Linked DNA regions of Homo sapiens: region 2 is linked to region 1. Evidence: promoter capture Hi-C in 16 types of primary human blood cells and fetal thymus (Javierre and others, 2016). All regions are on one chromosome and are shown on one strand. The core of a region is centred on a gene start or on the middle of the fragment in contact, and the rest is flanking DNA. Distances in the headings are between cores, read along the strand shown. Region 1 holds the start of HAUS5 (HAUS augmin like complex subunit 5). Region 2 overlaps CD22 (CD22 molecule).

The links. Contacts are between HindIII fragments. The CHiCAGO score rates a contact against its expected background, and 5 or more counts as called.
Region 2: a fragment that was not itself captured here is called in contact with the fragment with the promoter of HAUS5 in region 1 in 1 of 17 cell types (M1 macrophages); the score reaches 6.0 in M1 macrophages.

Annotation. Positions count from the first base shown.
Region 1 is chr19:35,610,982-35,614,782 of GRCh38, reverse strand. HAUS5 (HAUS augmin like complex subunit 5) reads right to left here and starts at 2,048. Exons shown (of 19, transcript NM_015302.2): 1 at 1,891-2,048; 2 at 991-1,053; 3 at 883-915; 4 at 724-748. The coding sequence starts at 1,988. HAUS5-DT (HAUS5 divergent transcript) reads left to right here and starts at 2,119. Exons shown (of 2, transcript NR_186318.1): 1 at 2,119-2,165. RefSeq lists enhancers at 1,911-2,170, 1,759-2,314. The HindIII fragment of the contact is 7,658 bases long and covers 1-3,801 here.
Region 2 is chr19:35,332,841-35,336,641 of GRCh38, reverse strand. CD22 (CD22 molecule) reads right to left here. Exons shown (of 14, transcript NM_001771.4): 3 at 3,718-3,801; 4 at 301-606. Among named protein-coding and RNA genes, the nearest start is that of CD22, 5.6 kb to the right of the region's middle. RefSeq lists a silencer at 3,128-3,337. The HindIII fragment of the contact is 4,678 bases long and covers 1-3,801 here.

The sequences.
Region 1 (3,801 bases), core at 799-3,298:
CTAGAAGTCCCAAGGCCTCCTGGAAGCCTCCCCTTAGGTGTCATATGAGCCCCTTGCACCCATTGGGTCCCACACTGGCCTCAGCATCTCTCCCATACCTGTCCCATCATCTCTTCTCACCAGCTTTGATGCCACATATCCAGGTCCCACCTCTCTGCGCCCAGCTAATTAATGCTCTTTATTTATTTTTTCTTTTTTTGAGATAGAGTCTCGCTCTATTGCCCAGGCTGGAGTGCAGTAGTGCGATCTCAGCTCACTGCAACCTCTGCCTCCCAGGTTCAAGCGATTCTCCTGCCTCAGCCTCCCAAGTAGCTAGGATTACAGGCGTGTGCCACCACGCCTGGCTAATTTTTTATTTTTATTAGAGACAGGGCTTCACCGTGTTGGCCAGGCTGGTCTCGAACTCCTGACCTCAGGTGATCCGCCTCCCAAACCACATCTTTGTCCCAGTACTGATCGCTTCCTGGAGCCCTCAGGTGATCTCATCACCTGAGATGAGGCCTCAGGTGAGCCTCCCAAAGTGCTGGGATTACAGGTGTGAGCCACTGCACCTGGCTGAGCTAATGCTGTTTCCACTGGACTTTAAGCCCTATGAGGATGGAGATCAAGGCTGTCTTGTGACCCATTGTCCCCAGCATCACCCAGCACCTGGTTGGGCTTAGAGCAGAAGATCTACAAGTCATTTTTCGGATGAAAGAGAATCTTGTAGCATATGCTTCTCACCTGTGGACTGTCCTGGTGGCCATACCTAGGAAAACGAGGCCAGAGTCAGCGGATGAGTGGGGCTTCTAGGGGGGAGGGCAATAGGTGTGATGCTGTGGTGGGGACAGGGCTAAATGGGAGTGGGGAAGACAGGAGGGGATAGCTTTAAGAAGCAGTTACCAGAGTAGGTTTCCCCGGATCTTCTTGACAGTCCTACAGTGCAGAGGCAGAAAGAGGAGTTACTATGGGCCTCACCTGTGCCCCCTCCCCTGCTCTAGCCCAGCTTACCTCTGACTGTGCACATGCTGCAAGATGTAGGCCCAGATGTCAGCCCCCTGGCCCAGACACAGCCTGTGGGGACAGTGTGTAAGCATATGCCTGGGGCAGCACACAGGGTGTGGGATCCTCATTCCTAGGGTGATGGTGGTAGGGAGTTTTTACTAGGGAGTTCTCACTTCTTGAGGAGGGAAGGCCCAAACTTTTTTTTGCCTTTTTTTTTTTTTTTTTTTTAAGAGACAGTCTCGCTCTGTCGCAGTGGTACGATCATAGCTCCTTGCAGCCTCAACCTCCTGGGCTCATGCGATCCTCCCACCTCAGCCTCCAGAGTAGCTAGGACTACAGGCAGGCACCACTACACCCGGCTAATTGGTAAAACATTTTTTTTGTAGGGACTGGATGTTTGCACTAAGTGTGGTGTTATTCTCATTCCCTGGGAAGGCGGGTGGTGGGGGAGCGCGGGAGAGGCGGGTGCTCCCTTTCTCCTGGGAGTGGGTTATCCCAGTCACATCCAGAGGTGGAGGTGGGGGATGTACTGCCAGGAAGTGCCATCTCATGACCAGACGTGGGGCATCACTCCTACAGCTTCAATCCCCGATGGGGTGGCCACGGCTAACTCCTGAGTGTCCTTCTTGGTTAGGTTAAGGGAGGGAGGGGAGGTGCTGCGGGGACAGCCTCACTCTGGAGATCCTATTTCCATAAGGAGCGAGGTCTTAGCTAACTCGTGGAGGATCCTCACCAGTGCTAGGGACCTCACTCTGGGGAGCCTCCCAGGGTAGGGAGCCCTCAGTAAGTCGGGTCACTCTCGATGGGGAATTGGGGGGAGTCGAGTCCTCAATGAGGGGTGGAGTTCTCACTCCCGGAGACTCAATCTCCAGGGTGGGGTGTCCTCACTCCAGGAGCGGTCCTCACCTGCGCAGCGTCGATTCCGGGGCCCGGGCCGCCACGGGCACCCCCATCTCTTCGACCGCCCAGCAACCCAGTTCCCGCGCTTCCTGCGCTAGCTCCATGACAGCGCCGCGGCGGCGACACCGCCTCCCTCAGCCTCTTCAAGTGTGGCGCCCGCCTCTGACGTCACGGGCGCGCCAACAGTGACGTCATCGGTTGCCGGGCAGACAGCGGGCTCGGGCGCTGCATAGTAATCTTAGCGCGGTCAGGCTGGGTCTTGCAGCGCTCACTCTTCCCAGGTAGGTCTCCTTGAGTGGAAATGAAAAGGGCGTGGAGAGACTGCAGCCCCGCCCGCCTTCCCTCGTTCTCCCGCTCACTACCAGCTAACCCGAAAGAGGCAAAACAGTCCTTGATGCTTCCATTTATTTTCTTTTTCTTCTTTTAACTAAACACTTTTATTTTAATAGAGATGGGATCTCACTTGTTGCCCAGGCTAGTCTCAGCTTCTGGGCTCTTGAACTCCTGGGCTCAAGCGATCCTCCCGCCTCGGCCTCCCAAAATGTTGGGATTACAGGCGTGAGCCACCACGCTCACCCCCTTTATTTTCTTGACAAAATGGGACTTGCGTCCTAGGAGGACTGGAACCAGGCAATGAGATCCTGGACTTACTGCTCTTTGATTTCAGAAACAGGTGTCTCATGTCTGAGTGGAGGGTAGGGGCAGAGAGCATGACCCTAACATTTCCCTGGCATGCGTTTTCCCATTCATTCGTGCTTACCATTCCATAAACTCAGGGAGCTGACCCTGTGCTGGGTGATGCTGGGGACACCATGGTGACCACAACAGCCCTGGTCCCTATTGTACGGAGCTCACAGTTGAGTGGGGAGACAGACGCACCACCAGGTAGGGGTGGTAAAAATAAGCAGCAGGGGTGGGTCAATTTGGGACACAGCAGGTGTGAGAGGTCTGCGCTAGACCAGCAGTCCCCAACCTTTTGAGCATCAGGGACTGGTTTCATGGAAGACAATTTTTCCACAGTCTGGGGGATGGAGGGTGGGAGCAGTGGATGGTTTCGGGATGAAACTGTTCCACTTCAGGTCGTGAGGCATTATATTCTCTGTCTCTCTCTCTCTTTTTTTTTTTCTTCCCTGTTTTTTTTTTTGAGGTGAAGTCTCCCTCTTTCACCCAGGCTGGAGTGCAGTGGCCCGATCTCGGCTCAGCGCAATCTTTGCCTCCGGGGTTCAAGCGATTCTACTGCCTCAGCCTCCTGAGTAGCTGGGATTACAGGCGCCCGCTACCATGCCCAGCTAATTTTTGTATTTTTAGTAGAGACGGGGTTTCACCATGTTGGCCAGGCTGGTCTTGAACTCCTGACCTTAAGTGATCAGCCCATCTCAGCCTCCCAAAGTGCTAGCATTACAGGTGTGAGCCACCATGCCCCGCCTAAGCATTAGATTCTCATAAGGAGTGCGCAATCTAGATCCTTCGTATGCACAGTTCACAATAGGGTTTGCGCTCCTGTAAGAATCTAATGCCGCTCCTGATCTGGCAGGAGGTGGAGCTCAGGCAGTGATGCTCACCCATACGCCACTCACCTCCTGCTGTGCAGCCTGGTTTCTAACAGGCCATGGACTTGTATTGGTTCACGGCTTGGGGTTTGGAGACCCCTGCCCCTGCCCTAGATGAAATACTTCTCTGATGCTGACTAACCAACCATGCTTAAAAGCAAGGCCCGAAAGGATCAAGCTATTATTTAGCTGCATTCCAGAACAAAATTCAAGAATATTTATAGAGATTAAAAAAAATCCAGCATCCAACACTGTAAAATTAACAATATCTGACATCAGTAAAAAATTATAAGGCAATGGCTGGGCGTGGTGGCTCATGCCTGTAATCCCAGCACTTCGGGCGGTTGAGGTGGGAGGAATGTTTGAG
Region 2 (3,801 bases), core at 379-2,878, 280 kb after region 1:
ATTGAATGAATGAGGCACAAGATAATGATGCGAAAAAAATCCCCACCAAGAGGGGAACAAAAAGACCTAACCAGATAATCCCCAATTCATGTCATGGCTTGAGGATGGACCATTTTATTCTGTTAGGCTAGAGCAAATCTTTTTCCCGAAACACCAGGGCTGACAAGGCGGCGTGACCAGGGCTGGAGGATGCCGCCGTCTGTGCAGGCTTCCCCCTGCCCTGGGTGCATGCCCCCTGCGGGGCTGGGGAGAAGGTGACACAGACCTTGCCCTTCCCACAGGCATGCCGGGGAGACTCACGCTTCACGTTCAGCTGCACCGTGTCATTGGAGAGGAACTTCCCATCTGCATCCTGAAGCTGGCAGGTCACAATCTTCCCATGGTGACTCCACTGTGGGGAGAACTTGAGCTCGCTCCGGGTGAAGACAGACTTGATGGTCAAGGAGGTCGAGGTGACAGCAGCCTGCCTCATTGGAACCCCCTCTAGGAGCCACTGCAATTGGATCGGATACCCATAGCAGGAGAAATTCAGCAAGCAGGTCAGAGTGACTTCCTGGGACTCTTGAATTTCTGGAGGGAGCTGGATATGAGGTGGAAAAGGCCTTTCTGCAAAAGAACAGAGCCCGTGCAGGAGCCTGGGGGACTGAGGACGTGAGCGTACACCTGGCTTTAGATGTCCTGTCCCAAATCACCCCTCAGGAACCCCTTGCCACTTCATTCCACCTCTCTCCAGTCCTGCTTTGTTTTTTTGTTGTTATTGTTGTTGTTGTTGTGTTGTTGTTTTTTTGAGATGGAGTTTCCCTCTGTCACCCAGGCTGGAGTGCAGTGGCGCGATCTTGGCTCGCTGTAACCTCTACCTCCCCAGTTCAAGTGATCCTCCTGCCTCAGCCTCCCGAGTAGCTGGGATTACAGGTGCCCACCACCACACCCAGCTAATTTTTCTGTATTTCTAGTAGAGACAGGGTTTCGCCATGTTGGCCAGGCTGGTCTTGAACTCCTGACCTCAAGTGATCCTCCCGCCTTGGCCTCCCAAAGTGCTGGGATTACAGGTGTAAGCCACCACACCCGGCCTCTTTTTTTCTTTAGAGACAGGGTCTTGCTTTGTCACCCAGGCTGGAGTGCAGTGGCGCAATCCTAGCTCACTGTAGCCTCAACCTCCTAGGCTCAAGCAATCCTCTCACCTCAGCCCCCTGAGTAACTGGGACTACAGGCATGTGCCACCACACCTAGCTAGTTTTTTAAACATTTTGTAGAGACAGGGTCTTGCCATGTTACCCAGGCTGGTCTCAAACTCCTGGGCTCAAACGATCCTCCGATCTCAGCCTCCCAAAGTGCTGGGGTTACAGGCGGGAACCACTGCACCCAACGCAGTCCTGCTTTTCTCCACTTTGAATCACTTTTGCTCACCCGAAATCCCCTCTGAAAGGCCTTGACCACACTAAGCCTCCTTGGGAACTGTGATCTACTTTTCTTTCATGCTCATTGCCGGATGTCTGCTTTCTGAATGATTGCAAAGTTCTATTCCCACCACCTCACCACCTCTTTTTTTTTTTTTTTTTTTTTTGAGACAGAGTCTCGCTCTGTCGCCCGGACTGGAGTGTAGTGGCGTGATCTCAGCTCACTGCAAGCTCCACCTTCCGGGTTCACGCCATTCTCCTGCCTCAGCCTCCTGAGTAGCTGGGACTACAGGCGCCTGCCACCACGCCTGGCTAACTTTTTGCATTTTTAGTAGAGACAGGGTTTCACTGTGTTAGTCAGGATGGTCTCGATCTCCTGACCTTGTGATCCGCCTGCCTCGGCCTCCCAAAGTTCTGGGATTACAGGCGTGAGCCACCGTGCCCGGCCTATTCCCACCACCTCTAAGTGAATTTTATCAGTTTAGTTCACGGACTTTTCAGCTTTGACAAACTTGTGTTACTTTCATGGCTTCCTTCAGTATTGCAGCCATCCACGCACCGCATTCCTTTAGTGGAGTGGGTCTGTGTGCACCCAGCCTCAGCTCTCCCCAAGGCTGGACCACCTCCTTCAGACAGCGGGGTCTGAAGTTGCATTGCTCACCCCAAATTTAAGGCTGCTCAGAACTGCCCATCCGGGAAACGGTGTGGAACGGAGTGACCACACTCCCTGTGGCAGGGGCCCCCCACACCTGTGTTTGATGGGTCAAAGCCACCCCTACATGTGCAGTGCTATAACTGAACCTATGTTATAAAAATTATAAGATGTTCGTTTTACTTCTTTTCTTTTCTCTTTGTCCTTTCCTTCCTCCATGCATGATTAGTTACATTTGGTCATTTCAGTAGCAGGTAACCATTAATTCACTCATAATTGTTTAACTTACATCCTGACTCCCTGGCAGCTGCCTGCAAGATAAATGAACTTGTCTCTCTTTCAAAGAACAATGATCCTTAGGTCACACAGACCTCCTTGATGACATCCAGAAATTTGATGAGCCGAGGGGCACAACAGCTTTGACGATCGGGAGGTCACCTCCTGCACACCTACTTTACTCATAAAAGCCCCCACTAACGCTCAAAGTCAGGTCAGATTTGAGAGTTTCTCTCTTCTGTCCCCTTGCTTTGGCTAAATTAAATAATCCTATCTCAGCTTCTAAGCACTGAGGTGTCAGTGTTTGGCTGACTACGCATCGGGAGCTCAAACCTGGCCTTTGGGGTTCAACAACAGTGTCATCTGACCTTGAAGAGCTCATGAGAACTTGCCATGAACATTAACATGCTGGGAGATTTCACTGGAAAATCTAGATTTCCATCGTCTCTTGAAAAATCAGAAGATCAGGCCGGGTGCGGTGACTCATGCCTGTAATCCTAATGCTTTGAGAGGTTGAAGCAGGAGGATTGCTTGAGGCCAGGAGTTCAAGACCAGCCTGGCAACATAGCAAGACCCATTTCTACAACAAATTAAAAAGTTAGCTGGGCATGGTGGCATGCACCTGTGATCCTAGCTACTTTGGAGGTGGGAGGATTGCTTGAACCCGGGAGATCAAGGCTGCAGTGAGCTGAGATCGCGCCACTGCACTCCAGCCTGGGTGATGACAGTGCGAGACCCTGTCTCATAAAAAGGGAAAGGAAGGGGAAGGGGAAAAGAAGAGGAAAAAAAGTAAAACAAACATTTTATGATTTTTATAACACAGGCTCAGTTATGGCACTGCACATGTAGGGGTGGATTTGACCCATCAAACACAGGTCTGGGGCCTCTGCCCTAGGGAGTGTGGTTACTCCGTTCCACACCCAGTTTCCTCTATAGGGAGCTCTGAGCAGCCCTAAGTTTGGGGTGAGCGATGCAGCTTCAGACCCCAATGTCTGAAGGGGGCGGTCCAGCCTGGGGGAGAGCTGAGGCTGGTTACATGCAGACCCACCCCACTAAAGGAATGCGGTGCTTGGATGGTTCCAGTACTAAGGCCAAACACGAGTTTGTCACAAAAGCTGAAAAATACATGGTGAGAAAGAAAGAGGGAAAGATCAGGAGATCCGATAACTTTGGAATCCAGGTCCCAGAGGGGCAGGAACTGAGGGTCAGATGGGACATCCGAGGTCCCGCAGCTCTGTCTAGTGCTGCTGCATCGCCATCGTCATCCGCTGGCGTCCCCTGCCTGAGCTCTGCAGGAAGCTCGGTTTGTGAGCTCTGTGCCAGGAGTCAGGTATTTCCTGCCTCCCACTCACCCCTGCCCAGAGCAGAGGACCCGCTCCCCGAAGGCCTTACCAGAGACATTGAGGTGTATTCGTTCCATCCATTTCTCAGTCTTGGACTCCATCCTCAGCCCCAGCTGACCACTGTCATTGAGGT